Regions from separate parts of the Homo sapiens genome. Here all the other regions are linked to region 3. The links are contacts of gene promoters, found by promoter capture Hi-C in blood cells and fetal thymus (Javierre and others, 2016). All regions are on one chromosome and are shown on one strand. Each heading gives the region's core, a stretch centred on a gene start or on the middle of the fragment in contact. The rest is flanking DNA. Distances are from core to core; before and after follow the strand shown.

Evidence for each region. The method cuts DNA at HindIII sites, captures the fragments that hold promoters and counts their contacts. A CHiCAGO score of 5 or more calls a contact.
Region 1: a contact is called between a fragment that was not itself captured here and the fragment with the promoter of LYSMD3 in region 3, in 1 of 17 cell types (naive B cells). The highest score is 7.3, in naive B cells.
Region 2: a contact is called between a fragment that was not itself captured here and the fragment with the promoter of LYSMD3 in region 3, in 3 of 17 cell types (total B cells, naive B cells and M0 macrophages). The highest score is 7.0, in total B cells.
Region 4: a fragment that was not itself captured here is called in contact with the fragment with the promoter of LYSMD3 in region 3 in 6 of 17 cell types (naive CD8 T cells, non-activated CD4 T cells, naive B cells and 3 more); the score reaches 7.4 in naive CD8 T cells.
Region 5: a fragment that was not itself captured here is called in contact with the fragment with the promoter of LYSMD3 in region 3 in 8 of 17 cell types (non-activated CD4 T cells, total B cells, naive CD8 T cells and 5 more); the score reaches 13.9 in non-activated CD4 T cells.

What each region holds. Positions count from the first base shown.
Region 1 is chr5:87,783,963-87,789,011 of GRCh38, reverse strand. No RefSeq gene overlaps it. Among named protein-coding and RNA genes, the nearest start is that of LINC02144, 53 kb to the right of the region's middle. RefSeq lists enhancers at 432-1,178, 77-1,817, 1,179-1,925. The HindIII fragment of the contact is 480 bases long and covers 1,701-2,180 here.
Region 2 is chr5:87,768,117-87,773,084 of GRCh38, reverse strand. No RefSeq gene overlaps it. Among named protein-coding and RNA genes, the nearest start is that of LINC02144, 38 kb to the right of the region's middle. The HindIII fragment of the contact is 1,092 bases long and covers 2,437-3,528 here.
Region 3 is chr5:90,526,003-90,531,082 of GRCh38, reverse strand. It overlaps LYSMD3 (LysM domain containing 3), which reads left to right and starts at 1,499. Exons shown (of 3, transcript NM_198273.2): 1 at 1,499-1,635. RefSeq lists enhancers at 843-1,102, 1,728-2,228 and a silencer at 1,213-1,462. The HindIII fragment of the contact is 4,420 bases long and covers 402-4,821 here.
Region 4 is chr5:88,254,359-88,259,613 of GRCh38, reverse strand. The region is part of intron 1 of TMEM161B (transmembrane protein 161B); the gene reads left to right. Among named protein-coding and RNA genes, the nearest start is that of TMEM161B, 12 kb to the left of the region's middle. RefSeq lists an enhancer at 1,966-2,619. The HindIII fragment of the contact is 977 bases long and covers 2,258-3,234 here.
Region 5 is chr5:88,273,691-88,279,133 of GRCh38, reverse strand. The region is part of intron 2 of TMEM161B-DT (TMEM161B divergent transcript); the gene reads right to left. It also overlaps the pseudogene RNA5SP187. Among named protein-coding and RNA genes, the nearest start is that of TMEM161B-DT, 7.5 kb to the right of the region's middle. The HindIII fragment of the contact is 2,104 bases long and covers 2,612-4,715 here.

The DNA.
Region 1 (5,049 bases), core at 691-3,190, 2.7 Mb after region 3:
CCTTTCCTCCCTCCTTTTCTTTCTTTCTTCCTTCTTTTCCTTTCCTTCCTTTTCCTTTCTTTTTTGTCTTCTTTTATTTTTGGAGGATAACGTTACTGAATCAAGTAGCTGTTTAGAAGGAGGAGCAAATGTTACTACCTGTAGTCAACTGGCAAGAAAAATGAAAACCTTTATCACATGAGAAGTATTTAAAGTAAACAGATTTACTCAGAGGAAGGCCTGAAAAAACATGGAGTAGAAGTTACAGTCTGGCACATAAACTTAAATCTTGTTTGGGAATTTTTTGGTGGAGTGTCTTTCTAAAATGCAGTCTGCTGATTTATTTATTTATTTTTTTAAAAAGGCTGACAGTTAATTAGCACAGAGTCTTATTACAGAAGTCTCCTCTAAAGCAGACATATTCAAGTTATACTGAGGTGATTGTCATAAAGGGGTTGTTTGCTGTGGCGCTCACAGATGGCAGAAAAGACAGCCCAGGAACGCAAACAGCCTGATAATCAAGATAGCTTTAAAATATGGGTGAGTTTTCAACTCTGATTCTGGCAGCAGTCTCTTTTCAAATATCTTGGGTTTTATGTCCAAGTGGTTTACTTTAAAGCAACGTTGTCATCAAAGGAGTCCCAGAGTCAAGAATAATTATGATAATTACCCAGAATTGCACCCCCCAATAATCATAATAATAATCCTGAATCTTAACCAAGTATAATATTGTTTGTGCAATACACTGCTACATTCAAAAAGATGAAGTGCTAGACAACTACGATTTATTCTTAACTGACAAAGTAGCTATAATTGTATGACTTTCTAGGATAATGGTTTAAACAAAAGTAAATAGTAAAAAAAAAAGTCCCCCCACCCTGCCCCCCCAGAAAAGATTGGAAAGCTTAGCTGTGTTTAGTGCCCATTGATGAAAGCAGTGTTCTCTGATCCATGCTGCTATTGTTGGTTTTAGTTTAGCTCCCTCTCAATCAATATCTAACAGGGCATGACTTAATAAGGTTTTATAATCTCCAAAAATGGTGGGGGGGAGGGTGGTTGTGGTATTGTCATTCATCAAAGGGGGCCTTTCAGGTTTCTTTGCTTTCACCTGCTGGGACCCATTTGGTCTCTTTCAAAGAGAATGCAATGACAAAATGAATGAGAAATGCTAGAATAAGAGTCCCTTATTCTACCCAATAGTATAATCAATGGGTACTTGTAATCCCTATTGTACCTCACAGAGGTAGTTGTAAGACAATTAAATCTCGCTTCTCAGGCAAATGATTTTGGTAGTTAACCTGAAACAGCCAACAATATTGAAGAGAATGAATGCATTTGAAGCAATGATGTAATGGGGTACTGCTTGGCCAGAAAAGCATGCATGTGTATTGATGTGCATATCTATATGTGTATGTTTATTTCAATACTCTATGTCCACAGTTTTCATGATTCATAGGTCCTTTGATATTACGTGGGTAAGTGGCAAGGATTTTAAACAATTTCATAATCTGCCCTTTTAATTTATATTTTAAAAGAACACAAAAATATTCTTATTTTTGCAGAATTATATACTCTAAACTGTAGTTTCATAAACAGAAAACATTTACATAGTTAACATCAGTTTGATGTGACAACCAATTTAGTTTTAATTTCATTTGCATCGGCTAAATTCAATTTCGCTTTCCCTCCTTACTGAATTGCTTGAATGTCAAAAGGAAGCTTGTAGTCTTTCGAAGAGATACTCATTTCAGCCTGCATTATTTGTTCACCTTCAGTTGTGTGGACTTCCTATTTTATTTCAAGTATAGTCTATCAGGATTCTCATGGTTTGTCCTTTTTAAGAAGGAATAAAAATGTGCCAAGTGACAAAATTGTGTAGCGCACACAAATTCTAAAAGATTCATGGAAAAAAAATTATACATTTGTTAGGAAGTCTTGTACTTATTGATAAATATTAAATACAAAATAAACGGAGCAAAGAGATTGCTGTATCAGAAACATAACATAAACATGCATTTTAGTTCAGAATAATTTAAAATTTTAATTGTTTAATAATTTGAAAATTAAAGGGCCCTGCCTTTAGTATAATTTAAATATACCTTTAATTTCTCATATCTCATTTATGTTGAAAATATCCATTTTCCTTTGCCAAAATTCTCTAAGAAGCCTCAGTTAATTATTATTTATATTTAGTCCAAGCTTTATTCCTGAGGCAAAATCCTACATTTAATTACACACACAAACATGTAATAAACATACTTTTATCTCTGGAGGTACACATTTTCTTCTCCACCTAAGGGGATTCTAATAAAGAGCTATTGATTTGGGAGATCTGTACTCCAAAAATACATTGACCCAAACATACAGATATCACAGATGTATGCTGTGCACAAAGTGTGTATGTCTTTTCATTAAGTTATGCAGACATGTAGCTTCCTTATATGTAAATAAAATCGCTCTCCATTGATGCTTGTACACCTAATTCTCTCAATTATCCTTAAATATTGAAAAGCAACTTTCAGGGAACTAGGCATGTTGCCCTATATGACTTCCAAGGCAGAAATATTGGTATCGGAATTCTACATACTTGTAGATTATTTTTTAAACCTGTTATTTTTCTATGTTTAGATCATAGAGGAATAGAAAAATCCCTTAGAAAAATAAATTGACCTAAAAAAAGATGTGTTTGCTCCGAATGCTGAGTTTAGTGAAGAGTGATGCACCTGACTCCTCTGGATACTTCCAAATGAGTCTGGCTAATTGGGGTAACCTAAGCCAATGGCCATTTGAAAGACTCGAGGTCAGGTGTTTTATTGCTGGGATAGTATTCAAAAAAATGACTGTCAGGGGTGAACGAAGAATTATGTCAAGAGCATTCAGCATTACTGCCACTAAAAAGAGAGGAGGGGAAAAACATTGTGAAGAAAAACATGTCATTTTCTAAATGAGCTAGGGGAGGAGGATAGGGCAATAATGTGGCCTTCAGCTGTTGGTTTATTAGGTTTCCATTCCCATGATCCACATCTGCGTTAGGCAGAAATAGTTTTACTTTTAATACAATTGCACTCTACTACTTTGCTTTCTTATGGAGTAAAAAATAGCTGTGAAAAACGTGCAAATGAGGTTTGTTCTGTGTGGCTGTTGTTTCCCTATCTCCTATGCTATTTTCCTGGTTCTATAGCAAATCTTAGCATTGTTGTCTGATTTGCCATGGAACAGTGAACATTGCTTTTCCTAGCCAAATCATCCAGTGTTAAATGCTATGTGATACAGATCAATAGGGCATCTACAGCTGTACAAAAAGGGCAATGTTGTTTCTATTAACAATTTTGAAAGAGAGTGTGGCCTAGTGGTTAAAGGATTAAATAGGTTGTTGAGGTTTTTGATGTCTTGAATTCTAATTCTACCTAAGCCTTTGGATTCCTGATGAAGTTGTTAGCAGATTTTTTTCATTTTGATCTGCACCAATATACTCATGGGTTATATACTTGGGGATATTATTATTGTGTGATCATTCAATAAATAATAAAAATCTGGAGGACTGATGAAGATTGGAAAAACATCTTGATGACTTCAAAAAAAATGTTGCTTTAAATATTCAATCAGATTAATTACTAATGTTATTTTTCACATAATGGTTTTGTGTTTCAGGCTGTTCCTCCATCTCGCCTGAGCCCATTTAGCAAACTGGGGTAAGGGCTTGTATTGGTTCTAGTTATCTGGATTTTCCTTAAGGAACAGGATACGTTTTGTTTCCTGTAAAGACATAACTTGTCAGTGGCATTTTAATGAACTGTAATGTAGAAAAAGTGGTTGGCTTTTTGGTGCCATTGCCAACCCCAGGTGCAAATGGTTGTTTTTGAGGATTAGCAATATACATCCCTCTTTATTTCATTTTGGGGCAGAGGCCTGTATGAGTCTGTGTGTGTGTGGTTATGTGTGCACATATGTCTATGTGAGAGAAAGAGAGAAAGAAACCGAGACAGAAGAGTTTATAGAATTGTATGTTGCTGTGGTTAACTAAAGCTAACCTTTGAAAGTAGTATAGGCCCTCCTATCGTATTTCCTGCAGAATCAGATTTCTGGATTCCAGATGATCTGAATTCTGTCTTCCTTCCTCCTTTTCCCTCTGTCTGTCTCTGTTTCTCTGTCTCTGTCTCACTTTTCTCTGTTTCTCTTTCTCTATTTCATTCTTTCTCATTCTCCCCCATCCCCAGTTCATTTCAGAAGAATGTTACATGTTTATAAACAATTCACTCAAGCAGCAAAGAGAAGAGAAGGAGGAAAGAGACATATTATTCTTGGAACAAAGACACATATTATCTTTAGTGTAATCAAATAATAGAAGTCCAACATTAATTATATTCAAATATCTGCCATTTGGTTTTAGTGCACTTTATTTTATTTTACTTTTTTATTTTATGTGTTTAATCTTGTACTCCATAAAAGTGGGAATGCAGCCCTTTGTAACTGGAGACTGGTGGAAAACTAAGCGTTCTGAGGCTGATGAGACTGCACATGGAAATGGAGATTGTGGCTATCACTTTGGTCTTATTGGTGACCCAGCCTTGGTCACAGATTAAATACTTAGGGCAGTGCATTGTGGGAAGACATTTGTGAAAACACTTGGAAAACTAGAATTAATATACTATGTTGATAAAGTTTTCTTGATTTTTGGAATAGTTGACTTAAGTTTGTGTGAAGGAATTAAATGAAATAGTCAACAATCAAGTATAATGTCTTCCCCAAATCAATGGGGGATTTAAAAAAACCATTTCTTCTATATTACTCATATTAAAGAGATATTAATTTCAGTCACATTAAGATGTTATATGCTTTCTCTGGCTTTCTTTAAAACCTCCTTATTTTCCTAATTTGTTCCAACAAGATTTTTATTTTAAAAGATGTAATTCAAACATGATATTCTGGTCTACAAAAGGGTAATTTTGCAGTTTTTAAAAGAAAGTACACTTATTTTATTAACAGTTTCCAAATTATTGGTGGGTCTCTTTTTAGTTTTTCTTAAAAATATACAATGACTTTGTAGAATCTTCACTACAGCATGAAACA
Region 2 (4,968 bases), core at 1,733-4,232, 2.8 Mb after region 3:
TCAAATGCGACTTTCACACTCAACTGGTAAGTACATGATATCATATTCTGCTTCACACTGCCAGGTTATGCCCTTCTCTCCTGTTTTGAAAATTAGTGCCTGTGTCTGTGTCTTTTTTATTTAAGTTTCAAAATTATGTAAAAAACATTGTTCAAAATTATTTTTTCAGTATGAAAATTAAGAAGAAATCTGTATTGGAATTTTCCTTTCTCCATTTCTAACACGAATTAAATCTGGAGACTGGGAAGGCAAGTCTATTGCATCAGTCTCACCTTCACTTACCATTGATTATCCCTCTGCCCACTTATTCCTGTGTTCTCATATCAAAATTAAGCTCACAAAATAATAGCCAATGCACCCCAAATTGCAATTTCCCACAATCTTTTGATGGGATGAGGTCAAGAAAGTATAAGCAGAGAATACACCTTTTTTTTTGTGGATCGGGTAATTCCCAGTAGGCACTCCAAATGCGTATCTTTAGGTTCCTTATTTTTATTTTATGATTGGAGCAAACTTATTTATACTTAATTTTGTGGCAAATACCAAAAACAACTTGCATCTCTATTAAAACTATTCATATATTACACAGGATATAAATATAAGTTTTTACTAATATTGTATCTATTTCCTTCTTTCAGATTAATTTGTTAGGTAATTTCAAATAACATTTTATGAATATTTACCAAGCTTTCACCATCAATCCTGAGGATCAACAGTCTAATCCTTCCACTTAAGCCACATCTAACATAGTACTGGATCTGCTGTTTTGGAAACTAATTGATCAGATTCTATTAAACAGACTAAATTGAGGTGAAAATAGACCTAATGACCATCGATTCATCAGTTAGGTCAAAATTTTTGTCTTTTCATGTATGTTAATCACATGAATATTCTTTTAAAGTATAGCAATTATCATACACATCTAATTCTCCAAAATATGCATGAAACACTGGTATTAGAAAAAGAGACTGCAGTATTTGAGAGCTTTAGGGAATCCTATTCTTGTCACTAGAAAGATGTGGATGTACCATGACTCAGAGATACTGATTTTATACGATGCTAAATGTATTATAATAAAATTAGCCCCTATGATTCGCATTTACTAACAGCTCTGACAGTTTCCTCACCTTGTATATAGATTCTAATTGGAATTTTTTGAAAATATTTTTCTTATGGATTTAATTTTTTCAGTAATGGTTGATATTTTTGTGCTGAAATGGGCTTAAATATAACTTTAAAACAATTTAAAATAAGACAGTTTAAATTAGAAATAATAATTGAGTTTAAGTTAAACCAAGAATAATTAAAAAAAAAAAAAAAAAAAGACCAACTTGCCCAGTCTCACTGACTTTAAGAGAAACGAAAGCCTTAAGCACAGTCAGTTTGGCATAATGGAAGCCTCACTGAACTAGAAGCCTGAGGATGATGCTGTCTGCTGATTACATTCTCTGTCATTCAGAACCACTGAGGCCATTTTCTGTTCTGTAAAATGGGAATGAAAATATTTTCTATATCTCTTTTGCGGGGTAGTTGTAAGGATCAAATATAATAAAGAGTGAAAACACATTAATCTTAAGTGACACAAAGTTATTTAAAGAATGGATTAGTGCTATCCCAATTATTGACTTTTTTTTCCCCTACAATGGTAATTTTTCTTTTTGATTTTCATTGATGGTCTCTGCCCTCACTTCCTCTGAATAAAGCCTTGGAACTTCTATTCATAATTGGATAAAATTAGAAAGAATCCCACATCAAGTAGCAAGATGCCTTAGCTATTATTACATTGTAAAATTCCAAAGAAAACCATTTAGGCATGTGGGCCCCATTTAGGGATTTCTGTTTTATAAGTCATGTTGGTGTAGAAGTGTGTGAGTGGAACTCCACAAATTATACTTAACATTTACTCCTAAGTAAGCTGGTAAATCTGCGTGAAAGGAAGCCCAAGTCTCCACTCTTGCTTCCAGTTCTCATGCTTATAAAGCGAACTGTCAGCCAATTCCAGCAAAGCCAAAGGGGGAAGATGTTTTTGTAAGCTTCCTTTAACTGGCAACATTTAGTGCACCACACTAATATCCCAACAACATCGCTATGGCAACCTCAGGCAAGCCCTGCGCATCCCTTAACTTCCAGGCCTCGGCAGAAAACTTGGCTTGCACCACCAGGAGGTGGGGAGGTGGGGAGCCGGGGAGCTGGGGAGTGGGGAGCTGCGAAGAAGGTTGGCTCCGGGCTCTACCCAGCATTAGAAACAAGGGCGGGAGGGCTGGCGGGTGAAGGGGGACGACACCACTTGATATCCTTTCTAAGTGATTCCTGTGTTACTCTGACTTTGTTTTAGTTATCACGTGAGCTAATTACAATGCTAATTAGCCCAGTTTACGGGGACTGCTGTGCATTTGTACACGAGGGTTCTTTGTTTGATCTGCTACATCATAAGCTTACCAGCACGGAGGGATAGCATGTATCGTTGAACGTGGAAGAACACACCTTCATTTGTGTTAATGAAGAAAACTACTGAAAACCAACAGACTAATTAAGGGTAACGATGAACAATTTTGATCAGCAATTATTTTTTAATATCGAAGTTCGCTCCTGGAAAGAGTAGAATGGGGAAGTTCATCTTCCAGCTTTCTACCCAGAAAAGTAGTGAGAGAGAGATCCTGCTTCATTTCCAATTCTTCTCCCACAAACTGTTTTAACATATAATTTAATCGATGCCTTTATTTCAAAAGAAAAAAATAATTATAGAGCTTGTTGGGATCATTTTCTGAAGAGAGGACATTATGCGTGCATGAATTCCATCGGTGATCTGAGGAGGAGCAGGCTGCTTGGACCATTACCCATCATTGTCGAACAGCAGAGTAATTAATTGGGCAAATACGTCTAGATCTGGTGAATTCACATGCACAGTAACTGGGCAGCAGCAACACACACTCTTTTACTGTGAATAAAATAGCAATAGTTTTATGTGCCTTTGTGCTATGTAAAATGTCTTTTTTTTTCCTCTTGGCTTTATCCATTCCAGATTATTTTGTCCATCTTTATGTACTCATTTGAAAAGAGGTTGCTTATTACAAAGGAAAAAGATATCTAGATGAGCAAGTTTGAATTCCATGTCTCTGTTTATTTTTAAAGGAATGAATTGGGTTCATTATTCTTTCACTAATTTTTAAAATAATTTAATATTTTCACTAAAATGAGTTAAATGAGCATGAGGAAATAGTATTTTTTAAACTAGTTCCAGGAATGGACAAGCTCCTAAAAAAATTATTAAGGCCTTCTAATTACCGTACAATATTAATTCAAAAATTTAATTTTTTATTTAAGTGTCATCTACAGAGGTAAAAAATAAGGCACAGCATTTGTCCTGGAGAAACTTCTTATAATAGTCCTCTGTAAAGTATAGATAATCAAACAATCTAACACTGTTTATTTGAACATCAAAAAGTGGACAAATATTTAGAGGAAATAATATAATTGTTTTAATGCAAATCATCTCTGATGGCTAAGTCCAAATGTAATAAGAAAGCTTAGGTTTTGATTTAAAAGGAAGTCAATTTTCCAGCATCTCCCCTTCTGAAGAGGTTAAATGATGATTCTTTTTTTTTTTTTTTCCGATCACATTTTAATCCAGATGACAGAGGACTTGCACTCCTAATTCAGACTTTCTGGTAAAGCTCAGCTTGTCACAATGTATAGCTTTCTTTTCTTTGATAAGGTCAGTTTGCCAAAAAGAACAAAGTGCATATGAGTAATACATTACTCAACCACTTGTATACATACATCTATTTTTCTTACCAGGTCTCACTATTCAGAAAGGTACAGACATGGCACCATGATAAAAAGGGTCATTTAAAAGACTTCGCAGAGGCTCTGTACTGTGAAGGATTGAATTTTCACTTGAATGCCTACATTTTCACATCTTTTTCTTTGCAGAAATATTCCTTTTGAATGGCAGACTGCAATTGGGTAGGTTTTTTTTTTTTTAAGTCACTGACCAGGAATATATAAAATATTAGAAGGCATTTGTCCCAGTGGAAGAACACAGTTCACTACCAGGTACCAGGTGGTTATTAAGAAAGTTATACAACTTTATCTCTTCAGATTGAAGAGCTCCTTCAGATAAAAGCCTTAAGTTCAGTCAAGGTGGAAGGAACACTAAGGTCTGTCACTTCTAAATGACAGACAATTTAAATAACTTGTGAAATCATTAGCCTCAAAGCCATCTACCTAGTAATTTTTCATAATCACATCCAATGTGTATTCTTAGGAACACACAAGCAGACTCCAGTTTATCTTTCTATCTACTTCAATATTTGATCACAACATTTTGAGAAATATGCTCATGACTAATTTTAAAACCTCTAATTTTTCTTTAATGGTTTTATATTTCCCAAATACACTTAAAGGGGTGGGGAGGAGAGAAAAGTCTATTAAATACACTGAAACTTTTTAATATTGGTTACTGGATTCCCTAAGGAGTTAGTGTAAATTCAGTTCAGTTGAATGAAACAGATATTTCTTCATCTCCTACTATCAGTATGGTATTGTGCTGGGATTACGGGGAGAAATAGGAATGAATAAAGCACCTTCTCTACGCTTAAGGATTCTAGAATCTATAAAAAAAGTAAGGTGCATAACCATAATAAAAGCTAGAATATGATGAATAAGAACAGAAAGTCACAAAATTCTGTCAGAATATATCAATGAGATTTTGTCTGGCTGTATCAAGGATGACATCATAGAGGAGAGAGCACTTAAACACTGCCTTGAAAGATGCATTCAGTTGGCCTGCAGTGGAGAAGGACAGAATAGTCTGATAGAATTGCTACATTCTGGAAAGGAAAATGCCAAGAGAAAAAGCATCCAGGTGGGAAAAATGCAGGAATGTTGGTGTGACATGGAGTCCAATATAAGCGAGACAGAGGGGGAATATAAGTTGCTTGAGGAGGAGTGATGAAAATCAAGTGT
Region 3 (5,080 bases), core at 250-2,749:
CTTTGGCTCTCACATTAATTCCGCTGTCTATTGACATTAAAATAAGAAAAGTAACCTATAGACAGAAAGAAGGTTGTATTCCCATTAACATTCATGAGGGCTAAGCAGCCGAAGTCCTACATATCAAGCAGGGAATATATCCTTTGTCTGCTGATGAGAGAACGTCTCAGTGATAAATGGTTACAGACAGGGGTGTCATGAGGGCAACAACACACAGAACAATTCAGACAAACTTTTTAAAAAAGTCTTCTCCTGCAGTTTTTTTTTGTGGCGCTGGGAAGCACAGTGCCTATCCCTGCTAATAAAAGAAAACTATTGCAATGCAAAACTCCTAACCTTTGCAGAGGCACTTACCAGAAAACCAAAAACATACTCTTTGAAAAACAATTTAAAACCAAGCTTCAAAGGCTTTCTAATGTATAAATATTCAGACATTCTGAAAAGCACTGCTCTGCACCCTGCACCCCAGCTATTTGTGCCTAAAATGGATATTGTCGTAACAGTTAGCATGGTTGTCAAAGTGCAACGTCTCTAATATCAACACTGAGAGACATCAGACTCATTAAAATGCTTTACATTCATTAATTAGGTTGGTGCAAAAGTAGTTGCGGCTTTTGCCAAAGTCATACATAAATTCAAACACATTATGATACTCATTTAACACATTTGTGATAAAAATCATGTATGAAGTCATGAGTTTATTTAATAAGCTAATATTCCATAGAGTCCAATGGTGACTACCAATGACTCAGTTAATTTTCAAACCAAAATAAGTTAGATTACAATTTGTTGACTCCCTTGACTCCTCGAGCCAGGGAAAACATTTCCTGGGGCCTGACTCTAGGTGGCTCACTTCCCTCACCTAAAAACAGGAAGGGTGAGACAACCCCCTCCAACCCTCGTCCTCGGTCCCCCAAGGATTTCTCTCCAGAATTCTGCCTCTTCTGCAGCAGTCTGGAGTCTTCAGCATGAAAAGGGTAACAAACATGGCGCAATTTTCTGAAACCGTGATGTCAACAGTGTTTTTGAGGTGTCCTTTCCCACCCTAAAGAAAATTCGAGATGCACAGCAAGAAAAAAATGCAAGACAGCTCCCCGACACATCCTGAGCCACGCCTCGTCCTCAGGGTGCACCCGACAGTCTCTGCCAGCGCAGTGTGGACGCTGGACAAAGACGCAGCCAGTAGGTCGCTGGTGGTCGCGGGTTGGATCCGCTGACTTGGCCACCAAATCTTTTCCTCGGGGAGTGAAGCGGCACGGAAGGAGCGGAGTCAAGGGCGGGGCTGGGGATTGGACCCGCCCCCGGGCCCGGGGATTGGACCCGCCCCCGGGCCCCGGAGGAGTCCCTGCGCCTGCGTGCCGGGCGTGGACCTGTGGTTGGACTCCCCCGTTTTGGGCTGCCCTCCGCGTCCTCCCCCGCCCCTTCCCACCTCCGCCCACTTGACGCGATGACGCATCTCAGGTTTGCGGACGTGGCGGCGGCGTACGGCCCGGAAGGCGGAGACGTTGGCGGCAGAGGCGGAGGCGGACGGGGTCAGCCCAAAGCAGAGGCTCGGCCATGAACTTACCCGGGACAGCGGCGGCGGCGGACCTTTTGGCCATCTTCTCGCAGAGTGCTCCCTGCTAACGGGGACAGGTAAAGATGGTGGCAGGAGGTGAGGGTAGCCCGGTCCAGGAGGGCGGGGTTGAGCCCCAGCTGCGTCCTCACGGGAGGCGCTGAGCCTCGGCCACAGGTGTGGTGGGGGCTGCAGGGCCGGGCTCGGCCCGTGTGGCGGACACCCCCGAGACAGGGAAGAACTTCCAGACCAGCCCTGCCAGGCCCTCTTGTCACACTGTCGGGGAAACTGAGGCTCAGAGGAAGGACGCCTACCTGCTGGATTACCTGGGCAGCTAATTTCCCACCCAAACACAGCATTTCTCCCACGACTTTATGTTGGCGTGAAATATTCGCTGACGGCATCTTGTCACATCGTTCAAGTGTCATGCTGTGACAGAAGACTCTGAGACGTAATCTTCGCTGACGATAGCAGGGAAAGAAAAACTTGACGTGTGGAATACAGAGGGAGGAGGTAGTTAAGTTTTAAAAAACAAAATTGTCCCTGGCAGCGGATAGGGTGCCTTTGATTCTGTCCCTTTGCAGCTTTAACTTGTGCCCTGTGACCCTCTTATTGCACCTTGCTTAGTTAAAGAAGGTCAAGGCGAAACACCCAGCAGCCATTCTACAGTACGAAGGTGTTTGGGAAACCGTTTTCAGTTACAGACTGAGCTGAAGAATGCTTTAACACTGTTTTGTGGCCCCTCGTAATCTAGGTAGCACGCAGGCTTGTTCCAAGTTTCTGAAAGGGAGTTCGTGCCTTTTTCCTGCTCTAAGAGAATTAAGAGAGGTGAATAGAATTGAGCCAGATGACTTAAATATTATGTATTTTCTAATCTCTGAGTAGTAGACTGGAGTGATCGCCTGGGTCAGTCTGTTCACTTCGGTTGAAGACACAGCCAGTTCTTGATCATTCAGAATACCCAGATTTGTAACACGATAGTCAGCTGCCTGCATTTCATTATAAAGGGGAGTGGAGAGATAGTGAGACAGGTGAAGTTCTGACCTTTAAATTATATTTAGAAATATATCGTGGAGAGAGGTTGATAGAAACAAGTATCTAAAATGGCTTTGGGGCATTGCTTAGTGATTTTCAGTTAGCTGCACTACTAAGCCAATTTTGAAGTTCTAAGTACAAATTATTAGGGTGAAACTGTCTAACAAGACACATAAGTAGGTCGGTATAGCCAAGTGTAAATTGCTGTATATTAAGTCTTAACTTTTTTGATCATGGATGCCTTTTGAGAATATGAAGCAATGAAAATTCTCCCCAGAAAAATATACATATGTATAAAATTTGCCTGGAATCTACAGGATTCAAAGACATTCCCTAGGTTAAAGACACAAGATTAAAAAAAGACCTGGTTAAATGAGTGGAAATAAAACTGTTATCCTTGGAGGAAAAGATGTGGTCATGACTTCAAAACTGCTTTTGAGATATAAAATGTGATAGTTTTCTTTAGTTTCATAGCTGTCAAGTTAGGAATCCTAGTTCTTGGTAATAATGTAGCACTTCAGAGAACAGTTGAAATAATCTACTTAACATATAGCTATTAGTTATCTGTGTTATCTGAATAGGAACTCTTGAGCTTTTAAAGCATTATAATATTGCCATTAGAGCAAGGTCAGAAAGTGCTTTTCAAGGGTTGGATTCAACTATATTAAATAGTTTTAAAGCATTTTATGATAAGTATATGCCTAGAAAGTACAGGTTGGGTAGTCCTTACCTGAAATGCTTGAGACCGGAAGTGTTTCAGATTTCTTTGGATTTTGGAATGTTTGCATATACATAATAAGATACATTGGGGATGGGACCTGTCTGAACATGAAATTTGTGTTTCATATTCAACTTATACACATAGTCGGAAGGTAATTTTATATGATTTGTGCACAAAAGTTCTTGTACCTGGAACCATCAGCAGGTAAAAGTGTCACTATCTCAGCCACCCTTGTGGAAAATTTGTGGTTGTTTGGCATCACCGTCATTCCTAACTCTGAATTTGTATGCTACTAATAAGCAGTCATTTTCTTACACTTTTTCACACATAAGTGCTTAACAGTAAAAAAAAAAAAAAAAATACCATTAATACAGTGAAAAAATAATGTGTTCAGGGTACCTAAGCACATCACCAGAATACCTGTACAGGTTTAGCATTCCTAATCTGAAATCTGAAACGTCAGTTGTGGAATTTTCCATTTGTGGCTTCATGTCAGCACTCAAAGTATTTCAAATTTCAGAGTATTTAAGATTGGATTTTTGGGTTAGGGATTCTCAACCTTTGTAATTTATTGTCATCCATTTTATATACTCAGAGTTTTGGAGTTGGTCTTTTCTGTTTTTTGTTTGTTTGTTTTTGTTTCGCTTGGTACTCATCCATAGTATTCAAAAAATAGTGAGTCTTTGAGATGTTATTTTGCTTTGGCTTCCATGACATAACACTTCCATGGTTTCTCCCTCTTCTGGACACTCCTTATCCATATTTTCAGGCTGATTTCCTTTCACCAAGATACTGAATTTTGGACTTCTTCAAGGCTCAGTCTTGGACCCTCTTCTTTTTCTATACTCTCTAGGTAATATATGTACTCACAAATTCATTTTCATCTATGTGCAAATTAGTCATGAAATTTTATTTCTAACCTAGACCTTTTCTCTGAGTTTGACTATATAGCCCATTTGTCTATTTGCCATTCCTTTTTACTATCTTAGAGGAATTCATAATCATAGCCATGCACCTCCTCCCCCAGCTCCTCTTCCATATCTCAGAGAATGGCACCACAATGTATTATGCAAATCAGAAATCTTGGTGTGATGCTTAATTTACTCCCTCTCTTCATGTCTGAACCACCTTGAGTGCAAAGAATTTTATCTCCAAAGTGCTTCTTACTACTTCCCTCCATCTTTCCCAACAAGAACTGAAAGCAGTCTGCCCCTTCTTATGTGAATAATTAACACGAAGCCAAAACTGTGAATGTGGAATTAGTTTTTTAGGTTCTTGTGTTCCTAATTAAAGAGAGTAGATAGATCAACTTGATGATGGTGAGTTGAGAGTTAGTATGCAAGTAAACAAAAAGTATTCATTGATGCCTGTTTTTAACTTAGGTCAGCTCCCAGTCAGTCTTACAATGGTTTTTCTAAAGTATAAATGAACACAGTAACCTAAAATCTGTTCACAGTCTTTATGGACCATAAGTTGAATTTGATGAGGACTCTAAGTTGGCTAAAAAGCTTCCAGGGAAGAAAAATTCCTGCTTCCAGGGAAGCAAAATCATAACCTATATTGCAGGCATATCTGCACTAAATATAAATACCAAAGTCCAGGAGGAAGTAATACGAAAGATACTCCAATCCTGAATGAAGTTGAAATGCAGAACAAGCTGGAAAGTTTTGAATTCATGAAAGTATTATGTGTATATAAAACATGCTTTGATTCCATCAGAGCTATAAGTTATATAGTCACAAGTTTTTAAGACATAACACAATTATTTC
Region 4 (5,255 bases), core at 1,497-3,996, 2.3 Mb after region 3:
GAAGGCACTGCTTTACACCAAAGCCTTAGTTTCTCTTAGGCCTGAAGATGCACTTCTAGTAACACTGATGAGTTGAAGAGCAATTTGAGAAATTGGGGATGAGTTGTGCTGAACTTGAATTTCTTATCAGTGTAAGCACTTAGTGAGTTACACTTGTTCCAAGCCTATCTCACGGTTATCCCAGTTCTTTTCCTGAGGACTCTTCTTTCCACTTGGGCTATTTTCAATTAGAACTTTGTTTCTTCTTCAGGTTGCAAAGAAGAATGTAATCTTGTAGAGTACCTTGCCTTCCCTTCCATACATTCAGCAGACATAGTTCCTTTAAGGGATTTTACTGCTAGGAGAATTTCATAGGTCATATTCCCATGTTACTGCTTCACAGGTATTTACTTATTTACTTACTTATCACAGAAATCCTTTAGGGGAAAGAGACAATAATGATGGGATGTTGTAAATTTTTGGAAGTAGAGAGGTTCGGATTGTGAAGAGGAGATGAGATAAATAGTAAGTGGCACTGCAAAGAGAAAGGGAGATTTTTCTCTACTAGTAGAAGTGGCTTATGAAGAAGGAACTTCAACAAGCTGTTCTGCTCCATTTTATAAATGTATGATTATAGATTGCCAATAGTTAATGCCGTGAGTACTTGATACTGTAAGGCTATGGCTGTTTTTAAAGTAAGATTAATACTTTTATCTTTGTGATAAGTAATTAGAAGCCCTTTGAAATACTAATCTAAATTATTTGTTTATATAGCTATCTTATGTCTGCCCTTTACACAGCGCTTAGCTGATTTTTGTTATCTTTTACCTGGTGATTGCCACCATTTGCCCCAATGTGCTGAACCACTTAGAAAAAGCAATGCCATAGTTTCCTGCTTTCTTTTTCTAAAAGAAAAAGTCATACAGCAAGGTTCTGTTACTGAAGCCAAAACTTCATTAACTTGATTATTATTGAGTATTTTTGTTATTTCTGGAGATTTTGGGCCTTTTTACAATGAATATAAATGATCAAATTCTTATGGTTTATGGGGATATGTATTTAAGTATTCGTGTTCCATAACTAGAACCATTTGTTTCTGCATTCGCCCTTGGTCAAGAGAGAAAGCATGACATTTTTTTCTTGAAAGGTTTGTTTTTATTGATGGTTAAATTTATTACTAGAATTTTATTTGTTTAAATTAATGCATACTTACTCCTTCCTCCCTTCCTCTGTGAGATTAATTAACATCAGGACAATGAAGCTTCATTGTATCAGTTATTACTAGACAGTTTAGTTGTTTGGGTAGGATATTGCGTGTCGAATATAGCAGTCTTTTCTTATCACAATCTTTACGAAAAAGTAGAAAAGAGCCTGGATAACTGGAATTAGAAATAATTGCCAACAAAATATGTTTTCTAGTCAATAGGGACAGATAAGCACGCTTTAAAAACATTCATTGTACTGCAGGTCATAACTTTAATTGAGACATTTAGTTCTTGATGATTAAAACTATTTTCTAATTTGATTTCAACTAACATTTACTGAATGCTTATTCTTGATTTTAATAGAGAGCTTCCCACTTAATCATTCTTATCAGAAGTGTTTAATGTCATCATAGTTCTTTCTCTTGATAGCCACTGAAAAGAAAATGTTCAGGTTATAAAGAAAATGAATCATTTAAAAAGAGAGAATTGGCCACGTATCTGAGAGATAGATCTTTTTTAAAACTATGGAACTGTTGGCATTCACAAGTCTTTCTTAAGAGAAATTCCCACAAACTACTAATTGAGGTGAATATGATGGGTGGTAGGCTAGGTTTACTCCTTTAATTTGGAACTCTGATTTCCTTTCAGGTCTTATAAATATTAGCTTATTTAATCTTTATGAGAATGGATTATTATTCATTGCCATTAGCAATAATTACACAGGCTTTGATGGTGGTTTAGAAATGTTAAATCTGTGAATGCCAATGATTAATTGTGTATTTAGCTAAAATATTGCAATCATAGACAACATGATCTGTTTGGTATTTTGGAGATCATTTGCCAGCTCTTGTCATTTTGTAGATAAGGAAAGAATCCCAGGGAGAGCTTTTCTAATTGCTGTGTAGCTAGTTAGTGACGGAACTACTTCGATCCTAGTGTGTTTAATTATTTAATGCATTAAAAATATTCACAATGAATGCATTTACCTAACTTAACAAATTTTCTTGGCTTTTGTGTATGGCTTAAAATTTAATTAAGCTGAAATTTTTATATTAAATTTATTTAATGAAGCTTTCTCAGTGCACTTTGAGCAAAGTTTTGATTTTTAGTTTGTTAAAAGGAAAGGTGTTTTTGTTTTGTTTTGTTTTGTTTTTGTTTTTGAGACAAATTCTTGCTCTGTTGCCCAGGCTGGAGAGCAGTGAGTGGTGTGATCTCAGCTCACTGCAACCTCCCCTCCCAGTCTTGCGATTCTCGTGCCTCAGCCTCCCAAGTAGCTGGGATTACAGGCTGTCGCTGCCACTCCTGGCTAATTTTTGTATTTTTACTAGTGAGGAGGTTTCACCACGTTGGCCAGTCTGGTCTGGAATTCCTGACCTTGAGTGATCTGCCTGCCTCCAAAGCCCTGAGATTACAGGCTTTAGCCACTGCACCTGGTCTTAAAAGGAAAGTATTTGTAACACAAAGCTATCTCATTAAAATGAGGAGATTGTCTTGTAAAAACAGATGTACTCCTTCCTTTGAGAAAGGAGAAAGCACAATATATTGTCTTTTACTCTTAAAGTGAATAATTTTCTTTATGCTAAAGTTTAGTGTGTGACACACAGTAGGAACCTGAATGCAATGAAGAACAGTGGGAAAAATTTATGCTTTATCCATTTATTTTATCAAAAGGTAAAGATTTATTCAACTTGTGTTTAATATCTGCCATCTCCCACCCTCCTGGGAATGGAGGCTGAAGAAATGAGATGAATGCCATTTTCAAGGGGGAGAGACCCTTAAGTTAGTGGTCACAATTGAGCATGATACAGGTTATTTTGGAGTTACGCATATGTTCTTTAGTAGAAGTTGGAAAGTCAATGAACGTTTTATAGTGCACATGAATGTTGAAGACTCAGTAGCAGTTGGTCTAAACAAACTGATTTGTACATGTCAAACATGTCTTTTCATTAATTGATTTTGGCTAATGACTTCTTTGAATACATACCTGTAGAGATATTTTCTATAATGTCAGAAAATACTCTTAAGGAAAAGTGACAGAATTTAGGAAGCTTTCTTCCATTGAACCTTTTATTTGTTACTTTTTAGTACTGTAATGAAACATTTATGCATGTCTTGGCTAGAGATTAAGTGGCTTGTTAATATGTTTAAGAATATTTTGTTCCTTGTCAACACTTTAATGACTATGGCATTGCTTTATATGAGATATTACATTATTTATTCAACCTCTTTTAACTGTGGAAAGTTATCTTTTAAAATAAACAACTGTTAATTTGAACACCAATATGTTAAAATGGTTTGTGACTTGTGTTTAATTAGAATGTTTTCTATTGTTATGAAAAAGTATCTTTTTCCTTTCCCTCTTTGTTGTTGGTCTTCCATTTGCCTTGTCATTTATACTGCGGAAAATGTCTTTTTATTTCTAAATTTAATCAAAATCTGATAAATGACTTTATATTGTCATCTTTATCCGAAAGTCTGGAGCTGGTATTTTTTAAGATAGTTACATCAAATTCACACATTCTACTGTTGTAGTTCTAATCTTTAAAAAATTTAGAATGTATCTAGGCATTGAGGATTTATGCTTTTTGACCTTTGAAAGGGTCAAAAAGCTGTACTGAGGTATTGAGGATTTATGCTTTTTGACCTTTGGAAGGACATTAAATTTCTTGTTTTTCTGATTTAGAAAATGGCAAAAAAATTATGCTTTCACTTTTTAAGGAAATTAAAAATGTATTTTATGCTGTAAAACAGTGCTGACAAACCCAATTAATTCTGTAAACAATTAAATTTGGAAATAGATAAATCTGAGTTCAAATTATAGTTGTTGACAATTATGTTTTATAATTCTATTTGTAATATTAAGATGAACTATATGAAATTGCCATTTTGTAGGTCAAGACAATTAAGTATTAGCAATTTCATAGGATTCAACCAATAAATGTACATTAGATATCAATAGGTGTTCTTATTCTTTAGCTGCTTTTCTACCAAATTCTTCTGTTCTTTCATTTCATATTTAGTATAGGCCCCCATTTTTTACTTCCAGTCCAGTTTACTGTGTCTGTAAGCGCTGCAGGTATGTTAGAAAACCAGTGAAGGCCACAGTAGTGGGATACCAGAGATGCTCTATGGGAAGGAAGTCTGCTGGTCTCTTCATGATTGTTTTGTGCTGCTTTTATCAGCTTTGGCATTATATGGGAGAATTTCTCTTCTGGATTAGACAGTCCTCAGACCTACCAAAGAACCTATTGGAAATAACCATCTTCAAAAACCCAGTTTGGGTCCATCAGTTCCACATACATAGTTTCATCACACTTTTCTTCTCAAGTTTCTAGACCTCTTAGTCACATTGCCAGAGTGGTAATTCTGGTTTTTATCTTATGACATGACATTTTTTTCCTCCTTTGAAGACCCTGATCTTGGTGTGGTTATTCTTCAAATTTTTCTTTCAAACCTTGTCCATTTTGGTGCTTTCTTTGGTTCTTTTGATTACCCACTTAATCATCCTGGATTTTCCTATTCTTGTAACCTGTATAATGTCCCATGATGATCAATCTTTTTTTTTTTTTTCCCTTAAAATTTTTTTTACAGTTACAGAGGGTCTCACTTTGTCAGGCCGGAGTACAGTGGTGCACTCATGGCTCACTGCAGTCTCAACCTACTGGGCTAAAGTGATTCTCTCACCTCAGCCTTCTGAATAGCTGGGATTACAAGCACATGCCACCATACTCAGCTAATTTTTTTGTTTTTACTTTTGGTAGAAGGGTGTCTCGCTATGTTGCCCAGGCTGGTCTTGAACTTCTTGCCTCAAGTAATCCTCCTGCCTTGGCCTCCCAAAGTGTTGAGATTATGGACATGAGCCACCACATCCTGCTAAATCAATCATTTTTCTGATGTTTTTACCTAATATGCTGAATCATGCAGATTTGCAGGTGCTTGGCAATCATTCAATCAATTCTATGTTCCTCTTTTGTCAAAATTTTCACAAATTTTAGCTGTCCCTTCTTCCTCTCCTTTCTTTTACAGCTCAACTCCTTACCCCATTGTGGTTCTTAGGAGATGATCTGAGAA
Region 5 (5,443 bases), core at 2,414-4,913, 2.3 Mb after region 3:
GCAGCTGTTGAAATGCAATAAATAAATCCATTTGTTCATTAGGAATTTCAAAATGGCAATTTTCTATCATTCCTCCATTTATTAGCTAGAATACATGTACAAAGAGAACCCTCTCCTCATCTACTATGTGGTTACTTACAGTTCACATACAAAAGGCAGGACAAATGCCTAATTACTTTAAAAACAAAACAAAACTGATTTTCAAAATAATGAATTGATGCAACAGCATCTTCTACTGTTGACCAACTAAATGCTGTTTGTTTTACAATCATTATGTACTCAGATTTAAAGACACTTGATATGTTCCAATCAATTGCATTTACTGTCCTTATTGACACTCAAATGGTCTCATCTATGGCCAGAAGGATGCTTTTCAGTTGTCTCCTGAGTCCATTTGATATGACACCCTCGTAGTCTCTAATAGCTTCCTTGCTATCTTGCACAAGGTATTCCAGGCTCATCTTGTATGTTTCCTGGGCATGACTGAAATTAACCGCTATTCTGAGGGTTTATGGAGTCTTGAACAGAGGTTTTTAACTTTAACATATTGGACATACATGTTTTCCTTTATACATATTACATTTCCCTACCATAAGATCATAAAAATATTTTGCAATCTTTCTTTTGAAGGTTTACTATGTTTTCCTTTCACACTTACATCTTAAAGTCATCTGAAACTACTTTTTCTGTATGGTGTTAGGTAGGGAGGACCAATTTCATTTTTCCCCCATATGAATATGCAGCGTCATCTATTGAAATGATCTAGCTTTCCCTGCTGGTATGCAATGCCATCTCTGACATAAGTCAAGATTCCTTACAATCAGGATTCCTTATAAATCAATTTTTCCATCTCTAAGCCAGTATTACAATATCCTAATTACTATGGTTTTAACAGATTTATTGAGGTACAATTCACATACCAATTTACTCATTTAAATGCACAACTGAATTGATTTTAGTGTATCTACAGAAACGTGCAACTATACATTTTAGAACTTTATTGCCTCAAAAAGAAACTGCACCCTTTAGCTGTCACTACCTCGGGCCCCCATCACCCCAAACTTTGTAAGCCCTAAACAACCACAATCTATTGTCTCAATACATTTTCTACTTTATACACTTTGTTTAAATGGAATCATAAGTGGTCCTTTGTGACTGGCTTCTTTATTTCAGCAGGCTTTCAAGGTTTATCCACATTATAGCAGGTATTAGCAGTTCATTCCTTTTTGCAGCCAAATATATCCCATTATATAAAGGTGTCACTTTTTGAGTATCTTTTCATGGATAAACATTTTATCTTTTGATGGATATTTGAGTTGTTTTTATTTTTTTGCTGTTACGAATATCTACAAGTCAATTCTATCTTAAATCTGCTTCTGGAGTATCCTGAATTCTGCTTTTTGTCATACAGACTTTAGAATCAGTTTGTCAAGCTCCTTGAAAAACTCATTTGGGATTTGTATTGCAATTACCTTCATTGTGTAGTGGAGAACTGCCATCTTAACTCGAGTCTTTTAATCATTGAACATGGCAATTTTAAAATTAGACATTTTTAAATGCCTGTCAATAAAGTTTTGTAATTTTCTACAGAGGTCTTCTATACCTTTTGTTAAGTTACCTAATTTATATTTTTAAAGGAATATAGTAAATGGTATGTTACAAAAATCATTTTCTAACAGTTCATTTCTGCTGGAAAGAAATGCAATTCACTTTTGTATATTGATAGTCATATTATCTGTTTTCACATTGCTATAAATACTGGAGACTGAGTAATTTATAAAGAAAAGGGGTTTAATTGGCTCATGGTTCTGCAAGCTGTACAGGAAGCATAGTGGCTTCTGCTTCTGAGGCAGCTTCAGGAAGCTTCCAATCATGGTGGAAGGCAAAGGGGGAGCAAGAGCAAGAGAGAGGGGAGAGGTACCACACAATTCTAAATTACCAGATCTCCTAAGAACTATTTCAAGGACAGTACCAAGAGGATGGTACTAAACCACGAATGAGAAACCCATTCCCGTGATCCAATCTCCCACCAGGCCTCACCTCCAACATTGGGGATTACAATTCAACATGAGATTTGGGTAGGGACACAGATCCAAACCATATCAATAGTATATTCAGAATCCTTGCAAAGCTCTTCAATAATTTATCTGTAGACTAAGTTATGTTTATTTACAATTTTTAATCTTTTGTTTTTCTTGCCTTATAATGCTGGCTAGGATCTCCAACATAGTACTTGTTCCTGATTCTAATGGACTGCTTCAAATACTTCATCTTAAAATATTGTTGTTGTAGGTTTTATTGGCTCAAGGAAGTTCTACACAATTCTAATTTGCCCAAAGGTTTATCTATGTCTGTTAATTTTTTCAAATAGTTTTCTTTTCCTGCATCTGTTCAGATAGCCAGATAGTTTTTCTAATCTCTTAATATACTAAAATACATTCCTGGGTTAAATTCAACCTGATCATGTTTTATTATCTTTTCTTAAAAACACATTTTCTAAGGTCTGTTTTATTTAGGATTTTTGTCTTTGCGAATATGACAGGGCTGTAATTCTTACTGCCCTTATCAAATCATTACTGCCCTAATAAAATCAGGGCAGTAATATTAAGCTTCTGTAACCTTGATGTTAAATTTGATAAGGGCAGTAAGGGCCAATTCCACAGTATATAAGTGGAATATACTGTGGAATGGTTTGTGTAAAATTGTAATGATCTGTCCTTTGAAGGTTTGGCAAAAGTCTCTGGGCATCATGATTTCTTACATCAACATCCCACCATTTATATTTTCCATTACATGGCTTTTGAAAAGTTACATTTTCTGGAACTGCCTACTTCATTTATATTTTCCCATTTATTATTAAGTTGTTCATAATTTCTCATCAATCTCCACAGCATTTGTAACAACATCCCCATTTTCACTTCTAATAATATTTATTTATTTATTTTTTTCCAAGAGACAAAGGTCTTGTTATGTTGCCTAGGCTAGTCTCAAATTCCTGGCCTCAAGGGATGGTCCCGCCTTGGCCTCCCAAGGTGCTGAAATTACAGACGTGAGCCACCACACTCAGCTTGGACAAAATATAAAACAAACATCTGACAGCATTAGAGACAATGAAATATTCAGAAGGAAAAAACAGAGTTGTTGAATCCAGCATTTACATTAGCTTTTCCTCTGGAGTATCTTCTGATTCCTGAGGTGATGGCTGAAAAGTTGAACAGAGTTTCTAACCCATAGAATTAAAAAGACAAAAACTGAAGTTTAGGGCCTGATCTGGTAAACTCTGCATGCTTGAGTTGGGACTTCAGAGGTCTACATTGTGAAAGTATGAACAGGAAATAGACCTGCCTATATTCTAATTGTCTCTATCACTAACCAGATTAAGAAGATCTTAGATTACTAGTGTCCAAAGGTCTTGCCAGGAGACATAAATTCTTTCTTTAGAAAATACCATCATATTGGACTTCAAAGTATAGTTTCCTCATATACAGTTCAATCAAAACAATTCTGACATTCAATTAAAACATAACCTAAGCCAAGTTTTATATATTTATAATGTTTATAAAATAAATAATACAAAATAACATAAAAATAAGGGACATAAAAGCAAGACAATGTGATAACAGCAAGAAACAAGAAAAGTGTCAGATAATAGCAGACACCATAGTTATTAGATACAGGTTTTAAAGTAATTATGATTAGTATGTTTGAGGAAATAAAAGATTGAGATATTGGATAAACAACTGGAAACAATAAAACAGAATCAAGTAGAAATGTTTGAACTGATAACCAAAAATATAACTAAAATAAATGCTTCAAGAGAGATTTAACAAATTCGAGACTACTAAGAGAAAATAGTGAACTGAAAGTTAAGAAGAAATATTCAGGATGAAACAGACAAGAAAATAAATGGAAAATACAAGGGACAAAGTGAATTGTCAAATACAAATGTAAGTGGAGTATCAAAAGAAGAGGAGAAAGGAGAGTGAAAGCAGAAGCAATGTCTGATCAAACAGAGCTAAGAATTTTCTCAAACAGCCTAAGGACATCACAGCCAGATTCAAGAAACATTATCAATCTCGAAGCAGAAAAAAACCACACACACAAAAAAACAAACACAAAACACATGTGGGCACACCAAACTTAAGACAAACCTCTTAAAAGTAGCCATCCAAAAAAAGATTACCTTTGAAGAGAAAAAAACAAAATGGACATTATGTCTTAGAGGACATAATGGAAGCCAGAAGGAATAAAATATATCTTCAAAATGATAAAATAGCTGCTAATTCAGCAAAAACGTTCTTAGAAAATGAAAGTAAAATAAGACAGTGTCAGGACAGAAAATCTGAATGAATTGTTACCAGTAGATATTCGAAGAAATATTAAAGTATGTCCTTCAAGAAGAAATAAGGTCTTAGATGGAAGCTCAGATTCCAGGAACCACGAAACACAATAGAAAAAGTAAATGTTTTATACAATATGAAATGTAAATTCATATTGTATAAAAAATGTCTTGAGAATTTAGGAAATACATATTAAGAATATACAATGTATATAACATGAGGTGTGGCAGTAAATGAAGTTGATGTGTTCGCAGGTCCTTACATTGTCCTGGAAGAAGTATAATACCAAATTATCTTAAAGATGATAAACCAAGGTTCCATGTTTTAATACCTGAGGTGAACAGTAAAAAGATACTAAAAGACATCTGTCAAGCTTATGAGGTAGAAAAAATGGAATAATTAAAAATAATCTAAAAGGTCTATAGCCATACCACCCTGAATATGCCTGTTCTCATCTGATCTGGGAAGCTAAGCAGGGCTGGGGCTGATTGGCACTTGGATGAGAGTCTGCCTGGGAATATCAGGTGCTATGGCCTAATTAAGAAAAAAAAAAATCAAAAAGGCAAAAGAAGACAAAATGAACATATAAGAGGTGGGACAAATAAAATAAGAATAATGACAAATTTAAATCCAAGTATGTTAGTAATTATGTTACATGAAAGCTGACTCTTTATGCCAATTAACAAATTACCAAAGTGGATTTTAAAAATATATTATCTTATATTACTCTTTGGATTAAAATGCTCTCATTTTTTTTTCCATTGCACATAGAATAAAATCTAAACTCTTTCCTGTCTTTCAAAGGTAACATGATCTAGCCCTTTCCTATCCCTCCAAAGTTACAGTATTTGCGTCTTAAGTCACTATTCTCTAACCATGCAGGCCTTCTTTTGGCTCCTGAAATATTCCAGGCTAGATCATGCCTTAGATTTTGCAGTTGTCCCTTCTGCAAGCAAAGGGTTCACCAATTTTTACAAAGCTGGATTCTCTTGTCATTTACACAGCAGCTTAAATGGTATTTTAGTTTCTTTAATCACCTAATCTAAAATAGTCATGTTTGAATTTCATGCCTAGTACTTACCACTGTCTTCTGTTTTTGTTAA